Linked DNA regions of Homo sapiens: region 1 is linked to region 2. The links are contacts of gene promoters, found by promoter capture Hi-C in blood cells and fetal thymus (Javierre and others, 2016). All regions are on one chromosome and are shown on one strand. Each heading gives the region's core, a stretch centred on a gene start or on the middle of the fragment in contact. The rest is flanking DNA. Distances are from core to core; before and after follow the strand shown.

Region 1 (4,596 bases), core at 1,366-3,865, 330 kb after region 2:
CTTCCCTCTAGAGGGCCAGCAAGACAGGCCTGAGTCATGTCTGTGACTCTGGGGCACCCACTTATAGGACTACGGGAGGAACCAGCTGTTGACATTTCCTGCAAGGAGGGGCCCTGCTCCCCCTTGCTCAGCTCTCTGATGTCCCTGTCTCTGCCCTATTCTCAGCCCCTCTTCCTCCAGCCTTCTATTCTGGGGCTGTGGTCATAGTTTATATTTGGGTTGAGCACATCACAGTGCATCTGACCATTCCTGGCAGAGTTGCTAGCCCCAGGGAATCCTGGCTTCTGGCATTGTGGTAACCTAGTGTGCCACCTCCATATCCCTGTGGGGGAGGGAAGGCAGTCCTCAGGTACTCCAGGTGGGAGAACATGAAATCGGGGAGACCAGGAAGGACTGCATTGGGGATGAGGAACTTATATTCTTCACCGGAGCTCAGTAGTGTCCTCAGCTAAGGAGCAGGGAACACAGGGCAGAGCACCTGGTAGGGTTGGGTGGGGACACGGGTCCCATGAGAGGGAGATAGAAGGAGTGGTTCTGAGCCTCTTTCTTGCAGCTGACTTCCCAGGCTTGCCCCCAGCTGGGAAGAGGTGTGTCAAGGGGCTGGGCATGGTGGCTCAAGCCTTAATCCCAGCACTTTGGGAGGCTTAGGCAGGCAGATCACCTGAGGTCAGGAGTTTGAGACCAGGCTGGCCAACACGGAGAAACCCTGTCCCTACTAAAAATACAAAAATTACCTGAGTATGGTGGCGCACACCTGTAATCCCAGCTATTTGGAAGGCTGAGGCACGAGAATTGCTAGAACCCGGGAGGTGGAGGTTGCAGTGAGCCAAGATAGCCCCACTGTACTCCAGCCTGGGAGACAGAGCCAGAATCCGTCTTAAAAAAAAAAAAATCGGGGGGGTGGTGTCAGGGCTAGGTCCAATCCTTGAGTTGCAGGATGAGAGGAATACAATATATTCTCTAGTGCCCCACCCTTATTTCAGGATCCGGACTTTAGGAGCCTGGAAGCGGGAACCAGTCTTAGTTCAGCACTCCTGTCTTCCCAGCCCCCATCCTGAATGGGAGGTGGCCTCCAGCTGCACACGCTTCTTCCAGGCACACCTCAATTTGCCCCTCTGAATAGGGCAAGAGAAGCGGGGGCTGAGTCAAAACTGGCGGTGAGCAGTGTCCTGCATCCTTCCAGCCATGGCCTTGAAGCCGGGGTTCTGGCCTGGACACGTGCCACTCTCCAGGCCAATAGTCTCACCACCCCTCCCGCCAGCGCTCAGAGGCGGGGCTGGCCGCAGCGCGAGGAATGCGGGCTGGGGGCCCGGGGCACATTCCAGGGAAGACCCCAGGCCCAAGGGGCAAGTTTACGCAACTCGCCGCCCAGCTGAGGCTGGGAGCAGGGGAGGGCACCCACCCCGACTCTCTCTCCTCTTCTCCAGCACTGGAGGCGGCCGGGCTGGTGGGGAGCTTGTGGAGGTGGTAGTGCGCCTCCCAGAGTCCTGGCCCGGAAACAGCGCGCCGGAAAGGGCTGCCTGCGGGGGGCTGACGGCGGCGAGAGGGAGGGGAGAGGAGGTAGGCTGGCCATCTGGAAAAGGGCCTCTTTCCGCACTGTGCACAAGTCCGCTTCGGGGCGGCAGCAAAGTAGGGCAGGCCGGCTGTTTAAAATTAGTCCGGCCCTCCCTCTCACTTTCAGGCGCGGGCCGATGGGCGGCGAGTGTCCGGGGGTGGGGGCGGGAGCGGTGACTCAAAGGGCTTTTACACCCGTGCAGCCTCCTGCGCTCTGCGGATCCCGGGCCAGACCGCTTCGCGGGGACTCCCCTCACCCCGTGAAGTCTCTCCTCGGCCGGCACTCCCATACTCCCATTGACCTACAGGGTCAAGCCCCAATCCAGCTTCCTGACACCGCAGGAAACCTCTGCCACCTCTAGTAGTCCGCCTCGGGCCCGCCCCTCCTCGTGGTCCCGCCCCCACCTCACCTGAAGCAGGTGGAAGCTGGTCCCTCCCCAGCTCCGCCTCCAGGGTCCGCTACAGCCCAAGCGGCTACCGTCACTCTGACCAGGGAAGCCACCCTGGCAGACCGACGGCGAGTGGAACTCGAGCACCTCCCCAGGTGCGCCTAATTCGAAGGGCAGTCAGAATGGCGGAGCCAAGTTCCTGGCACCCCTCTTCAGTTTCCCCTCAACTTGAGAGGGGACTCCCCCGCAGGCGGGGCAGAGTGGACCCTGGGACCCCAGCCCAAGACTTTTCCGGAGAAGAACACTCGCTCCAGCCTCTTCCCGCGGAGCACCTCCCACCAGTTTTCATGGCGCCCACCCTGAACCCCCGATCGCCCCAACCTTTCTCCGGCCTCCCTCACCTTGAGCGGCGCTCCCAGCAGGCGGTGCACCGCGGGTATCTGCGCGCCCAAGGGCAGCGCCCCGTCCAGGCTGCAGGTGGGGGCCCGGCGCGGCTCCGGAAAGTTGGCACATGCGAAGGGGTCGGTGTCTTCCAGGTACTGCACCCTCACGGTCACCACTGATACCGGCTCTCCGTCCCCGCGGTCTTCCCCGCCCGCCATGGCTCTGCGGCCGGCTCACGCAGCGCGCCTCCGAGTCCCGGCCCCAGTGCAGCTTCTACTCAAAGCACACTGTAGCTCCGCGGTTCGGGCCCGGCCGGACCGGACGCGGCTGGAGGGGCGGGGCCAGACGGAGGCGGGGCCGAGGAAGGGGGTGGAGCCAAGATTAGTCCCCGAGTGCGCGCCAGGAGGTAACCACTGCCGGAGGCGGGGCCGCCGCTAGCCACTCACAGGGCCCAATGGGAATCCCGTTAGTTCACTGGCTAGGAGGGCGGGAAAAACCGAGCTCGCGCCCCACCTTCGAGAACGCGCAGAAGGCGGGGAGGCTTTCTTTGGTCTGGGGATAGTGAGGCTGCGTTCTCTTTGAGGGGTGTTAGGGCAGATGGGGCAGAAGTTTCTTTAGATAGTGGCCGGCCAGGTCTCTCTCAGTTGAGGGACAAGATAGCCCTCATTCCTTCCATTTGAGGGGTGAGTCCCTGTGGTTTCCTCATTTAGGGAAAGCAGTGAGAGGGGGTCCCTTCAATTTGGAGCAAGAAGTGAGAATAAATTCCACCCAGTTTGAAGGAAGAGGTGGGATCAGTTCCCTTTAGTTGTGGGAGGAAGAGGGAAGGATGCCCTTCAGTTTTCTGGGAAAAGATTGGGAGGAGTCAGTTTGAGGGGGCAGATAGAACACGTTCCCCTCAGTTTTGGAGAAAAAGTGGGATGGGTGCCCCTCAGCCTGAATGAAAAGTGGAGACGGTCCTCCTCTGTTTGGGGCGCTATGAGCCGAATGCCCCTCAGATTTGGAAAAAGTTGGGTGCATCTCGCCTAGTTTGAAGGGAATCAGTAGGCTGGGTTTTCCATAGGTTCCTGTCAGCTTCATCAAAGAGATGAGACAGTTCTCTGTAGTGTGACTGAAAGGGAGGGCCAGGTGCCCCTTGGTTTGGGAGATGAAGAACAGCCTCCCTCTTCGCCTGGCACGAGCTGGGCCAGTCTGGGCCTTAGGGTTTCTGGGACGTTGGGGGCAGCGTTGTCCGTCACTGCTTTGGGGAGCGTCCAGTGCGCGTGCGCAGCTCAGGTCCGGGTGGGGGCCGGCAGGGGGTCCTGGGCTTGGCAACGTGGGCGGAGGGCGGCCAAGCACGGTCCCCTGCGTTTTGCACCCGGCCGCGCCTTGGTCCCAGGGGGGTGCTGCTCGCCGCACAGCAGCGCTGGCCGAGGAGGAGCCGTGCCCCTCCCGTCCTGACCGCGCCCCCCGCAGACCCCCGCCCTTCCCGCTGCGGGCTGCCCCAGGGGGGCCGTGGCCGCGCACCGCTCTGGATCTGGTGGGGGCGGTTTTGGGGAGGTTTGGGGGCGCGGACTCGAAGGAGTAGGTTGTGGAACTTGGGGGAGAGCTGCACTGGGGAATTTCCGGAGCTGGGACTGATTTAGGGAGGAAAGAGGAGAGAGTCCCCGACTACGAGAGTCCGAGGCAGGGTCTCGGAGCCTGGACCTGGCTTGGGGGTATCGGAGCCGGGATTGGGGGGAGCGGGCCCCACGTGCCTGTGACGCGGGGGCGCCCGGTAGGTGGCGGCGGCGACGCGGGGCCGGCGGCCGTGCGGTGCCGGGAGGGCGGCTGGGCAGGCGGCAGGATGCTGCGCGCCGCCCTGTCCCTGCTCGCGCTGCCCCTGGCGGGGGCGGCCGAAGAGCCCACCCAGAAGCCAGAGTCCCCGGGCGAGCCTCCCCCAGGCTTAGAGCTCTTCCGCTGGCAGTGGCACGAGGTGGAGGCGCCCTACCTGGTGGCCCTGTGGATCCTGGTGGCCAGTCTGGCCAAAATCGGTGAGTGCGTGTGTGCGTGCGCCAGGCCGACCGCCAGCGGCGGACCCGCCCCCAACACCCCCACCTCCTCGGTCCTCAGATTGGGGCTGGCTTCTTGCACGGTGCTGGGACTTAGGTTTGGATTCCACAAATCCGGGCTCTCGCCCAGTTCCTGCATCGCTTCTTGTGGGTCCCAGGTCCCTGTCTTCTCCCCTGGGAGCTCTGAGGATTTGCCTTTCTGAAGGGCTGTCCCCCGCTCTCCCCAACTCCATCTGTAGGCT
Region 2 (4,822 bases), core at 797-3,296:
GACCTCATGTGACAGGTCACAGTCAACACATAGTCAGAACTTTGTTTCATGCACAAAATCATTAAAAATATTCGCCCAGGAGCAGACTCACACTGGGCTCTTGGCCACTCAAGGATTCTGTCGGAATTTCACCTCTGTACTGTCAGCTCCTTCTGGCCATAGCCTCCCCAGCTCGCAAATCCCAAAGTGGTAATCCCAGCACTTTGGGAGCCCAAGACGGGCGGCTCACCTGAGGTGAGGTGTTCAAGACCAGCCTGGCCAACATGGCGAAACCCTGTCTCTACTAAAAATACAAAAAAAAAAAAAAAAAATTAGCCAGGAGTGGTGGTGCATGCCTGTAGTCCCAGCTACTCAGGAGGCTGAGGCAGGAGAATCTCTTGAACCCAGGACGTGGAAGTTGCAGTGAGCTGAGAACATGCTACTGCACTCCAGCCTGGGCGACAAGAGCGAAACTTCGTCTCAAAAGAAAAAAAAATGTATAACGTTACCTTCAGGCTATGTGTATAAGATGTATATGAAACATAAATGAATTTCCTATCTAGATTTGGGTTCCATTCCCCAAGATATCTCATGATATATATGCAAATATTCCAAAATCTGAAGAAAAAAAAAAATCCAAAATCTGAAACACTTCTGGTCCCAAGCATTTCAGATAGGGGACACTCAACCTGTGTAACGTGTACATACTCTCTGGAAAGCAGGATTTCAAAGAGAAACAGCAAGAGGAAGGGTGCCAGAGGAAGGAGAAGCAGGACTTTGCGGGGAGGGATCCCCCCGGCCCCAACCCCAGCTCTCCGGCTCACCTTGGTCAGGTATAAAGGGAAATTTCCACCATAGTTTTCTGGAACTTCCACAGACAGCTCTGCAGGCTGGGCCTTGGGGAGAGCCTGTGGGAGGATTCTCACCTTGTCACCAGGCTCTATCTTCCTGCGTGGGCACTGAGACCCAACAGAAGAGCGGAATTTCCGCCCCTTCCCAGGGCCTGGCTGTACCTTAGTCCATCCACCCGCGCTCTGGTCTTTGACCTCCTCATCCCACAGTGGCTCTATAGTCCCAGCTCTGACCCCTCCCATGCCTTGCACCGTTCTCACGGTCAGTGCAATTGGTCCAGGTGGAGTTGGGGGCAAGGGTGTCAACCCCCAAAGCCAAGACCTGAAGGAGAGGGGGCAGGGCCTAGCTCACCTGGGGGACGGAGACACAAAGCAGCCACAGCCAGGCAGGGACCATGGTCAGGACAGGCCTGAGGGACACGGCAGTGAGGATCCAGCCCAGGTGGGTAGGGAGGGGCTTTCCATCCCACACACACAACTAGTGGGATCGTACTGCAGACTAGTCTTCTCTTCCTCCCCTCCAAAGGAGCTGAGGCTCTCCATCTCCTGCAGGGTAGTGCCCTGCTCCTCGGCCAGGCCCACCAAGGCCCCCAGGCCCAGCCACCCTGCTTCTAGGCTCTTGGTCCATCAAGCACTCTATCAGAATTTCACCTCCAGACCTCCAGCTCCTTCTCACCATAGCCTCCCCAGGCCGCAGATCCCAAAGTGGTAATTTTCTAGCAATCCCCCAAATCACAAAAGTTTGAAGCTGGAAAGTTCCTGAAGACTTGGAGGGTCACTTCCTGAAGTCACCTCTTGTTGCAGGCAAGGCCTGAATGCTGGGGTCTGGCCAAGGTCACAGAGGACTTGACCACAGGAGGAGTCCTCCTAGCTCAGGGCCTCTGGGACTGTCCTGCCTCCCACTGCCACCTTCTAGACAAGGAGAACCCCCGGAGCAGGAGCCCGGCCCTTGTCTCATCATTTTCCAGCCCTTGTCATGGAGCTGGGCAGGCAGAGCAGCGACAAATCGACAACCCCTCTAAGATGAGGCCCTGGGAATTCTTTCCCAGATGGCGAGGACAGGGCAGTGTTTCTCCTTTCCCCACCACCAACCTCAGCCTCAGCCATGCCCTCCCCTCCACTCCCAGCCCCTCACCCTCCAGCGCCCAAGACTGGCTCCCTTGGTCCAGCTGCCAAGCAAGAAGAGAGCTCCTTCTCCAGGGGGCTCTGGCCAGGCTGGGCTGGGTGGGGCAAGGCAGGGCACTTGAGCAGGTAGGAGGGTTCAGCCACGCTTGCTCAGGAGTGGAAAAGGCCACTGGGCCCACAGCAGCAGGCCTGGCCCCGCCCAGCCCCCCAAGTTACTCATTGACTTTGGAAAGCCAGGAGCTGCTCAGCATCCGTGACTGCCAGCTCCAGGAGGTGGGGAGATGGTTGGCCTGGCACTCCCTCGACCCCAGCACAGCCCAGGAGGTATTCCTTGGCCCTCTGGTTCTGGACGTTACTTTTTCTGTGGCTCCAGACTTGGTCTGACTTATCTCCCAGGCTCCAGTGTCTGCAGCCACACCTTTTCACACTCTGTTCCTTTTGCATGGAACACCCTTCCCACTCATTCATCTGTGTGGTAAGCACCTGCTCATGCATGCTTCAGTGCTCAGCTCAAATATTCCTTTTTCCAGGAAACTTCCCCTATGTTCCCAGGCTTGTTCAGGAGCCTCCTCTGGGAATGCCCCTCCCCCTCACACCATGCCATGTGCTATCTCTATTAATACACAGAGGACACCAGCTTGTCATTGTCTGCCTCTTCCATTAGATTGGGAGCCCTTTGAGAGCAGAACTCAGGGACTCAGGAATGACCTGGCTCTCATTCTGCCCTGGCAGCTCCGCATGGCTTGTGGAACTAAGACAAGGAGCTGGAGGTTGCAAAGGATGGGTGAGCAGTACATGAGTGGAAGTGGGTATTGGGGCTCCAGACCACCCCCCCCAGGGGGACCTGTGGTGGGGGAGTGCAGCAGCCTATGAGCTCCCGAAGTCCTTACACTGGCCACTCAACAGTGACAGGGCTGAGACAGTGGGCAGTCTCATGCCCCTAAGAAGATTAAACTGGCTCAGGTGACCTTGAGGGAGTTGCAGGGCTGAACAGGGGCTCTCCCCGCAATGAGGGCAGCCAAGCAGAGCCAGGAGATGCTTCTGGGGCCTGGGAGTCTGGAATGAGGGGAGAGGGTGGGAAGAAGGTCTCCAGTCCCTCTCCAGCCTTGGAGCTTCCCATGGTCCCCACGAAGTCCTTCCCACTGTACATCTGATTAGTCTCTCTCAGGCCAGAAGCTACCCCCAGCTGCCCCCAGCCTTGTCACAAGCTGAGTGCCTGCTTCAGGGTCACTCTGGCACCCAGCCTGGAGCAGTGTAGTGTGGGGAGGTTGAAGGGGGTTTCACACGTGTTAAGCTCCTGCTCTGTGCCCAGCACTGCTCTGAGCACATACCTTCATTATGCCACATACTGCGTTCTGAAGGGGCATTGGGCACATGCTGGGGCACAGAGAAGCTGAGTGGTTTGCCTAGGGTCACACAGTCAATAAGTGACAGAGCCAGGAAGGCCTGGGGACCCTCACTTGATCTGAAAATACCATGCCTTCTGCATTCCTTGAAGTATGTGGGGAGGAGGGGCAGAGCAGCAACAGCTCTGAGCAGTTACCTCTGCCCTGGGGAGCACGTGGGTGAATCTCAGCGCTCCCCTGTACATGGAGGGGCAGCCCTCAAGCCTCCTCCTGCCATTCAATAAGCTGCAATCAGGATTCTAACCAGGTTGCCAGGGCTCCCTGGAGTCTGTGGAATGAATAAATTGAATAAATTGAACTAAGGAAGGAATGTATGGACCTTGGCCCAGAACCTTCTTAGAAACTGCCCCCCACCTTGCCCCAGGCTGCCTCCAGGCTTTGGAGATGGGCAGACCTGTATACCAGTCCCCACTCAGCCACTTCCCACCCAGCACCAGATGGGGATGGTTTTTCCTGAGACCATGTAGATAAAAACTCTTAGCAGCACTTGTGCCGAGGGTGAGGGAATGAATAAATTGAATAAATTGAACTAAGGAAGGAATGTATGGACCTTGGCCCAGAACCTTCTTAGAAACTGCCCCCCACCTCGCCCCAGGCTGCCTCCAGGCTTTGGAGATGGGCAGACCTGTATACCAGTCCCCACTCAGCCACTTCCCACCCAGCACCAGATGGGGATGGTTTTTCCTGAGACCATGTAGATAAAAACTCTTAGCAGCACTTGTGCCGAGGGTGAGGGAGCCATGGGCATGGGTGGGCAGGGAGACAGGTGCATCCCTAAACATAAGCACGAGTACACCTTCCTATACAAATGCAAGACCTCTCATTCCAGGCAGGGCGGGCTCCCGGCAGCTGTTCCCACCAAAACTGAATTAGCCAATGCTGAGCATGGAATGTTCTGGCCTGGATACTCATGGTAGAGAGAACAGTGAGTGCCTCCTCCGTAGCTCAACCCCAGTGAAGTGGTGGAGGAGCCATGTGGAGCTGTGTGTGCCTTCACAAACCACCCCTCGGAGGTCTCTATCCCCAACCTCAGCTGATTCCAGCCCCTCAAGAGGGAACAGGGCAGAAATACCAGCTGTGGAGCCAGATCCTGTCTGGTTGTGAGACCCAGGGTTCCTGCCTGGTTGTGAGACCCAGGGTTCCTGCCTGGTTGTGAGACCCAGGGCAGAATGTGCTCCCCTGAGCAGCCTGTTTCCCTTTATGGACAGTGAAGTGATTGAACCCTCAATCAGTTGGGCAACGCCAGGCCCCAGTGCAGAAAGAGAAGAATCTGGATAACAGGGACTGGGAGGGGTTTGTGTCTCCTGCTCCTTGAACCTCTAACCAGACCCGATGCCCATCCCAGCTGGCTAAATCTGGACCCTCACATTAACACATCATGGCCACACACTAGGGTGGGGCAGTGAGCCCCCATCCCTCAACTTCAGAAATCCTTCCAGCTCCTGAAGCGCCCAGATAGGA

What was found. Contacts are between HindIII fragments. The CHiCAGO score rates a contact against its expected background, and 5 or more counts as called.
Region 1: a contact is called between the fragment with the promoter of FHOD1 here and the fragment with the promoter of CDH16 in region 2, in 7 of 17 cell types (neutrophils, non-activated CD4 T cells, naive CD8 T cells and 4 more). The highest score is 7.6, in neutrophils.

The regions. Positions count from the first base shown.
Region 1 is chr16:67,244,866-67,249,461 of GRCh38, forward strand. It overlaps FHOD1 (formin homology 2 domain containing 1), which reads right to left and starts at 2,616. Exons shown (of 22, transcript NM_013241.3): 1 at 2,345-2,616. The coding sequence starts at 2,545. SLC9A5 (solute carrier family 9 member A5) reads left to right here and starts at 4,114. Exons shown (of 16, transcript NM_004594.3): 1 at 4,114-4,336. The coding sequence starts at 4,150. RefSeq lists enhancers at 1-18, 791-1,450, 3,851-4,352, 4,353-4,596 and silencers at 1,554-1,653, 2,554-2,923, 3,566-3,655, 3,676-3,765, 4,066-4,175. The HindIII fragment of the contact is 13,502 bases long and covers 1-4,596 here.
Region 2 is chr16:66,916,839-66,921,660 of GRCh38, forward strand. CDH16 (cadherin 16) reads right to left here and starts at 2,047. Exons shown (of 18, transcript NM_004062.4): 1 at 1,966-2,047; 2 at 1,183-1,240; 3 at 804-887. The coding sequence starts at 1,227. RefSeq lists an enhancer at 4,804-4,822. The HindIII fragment of the contact is 16,817 bases long and covers 1-4,822 here.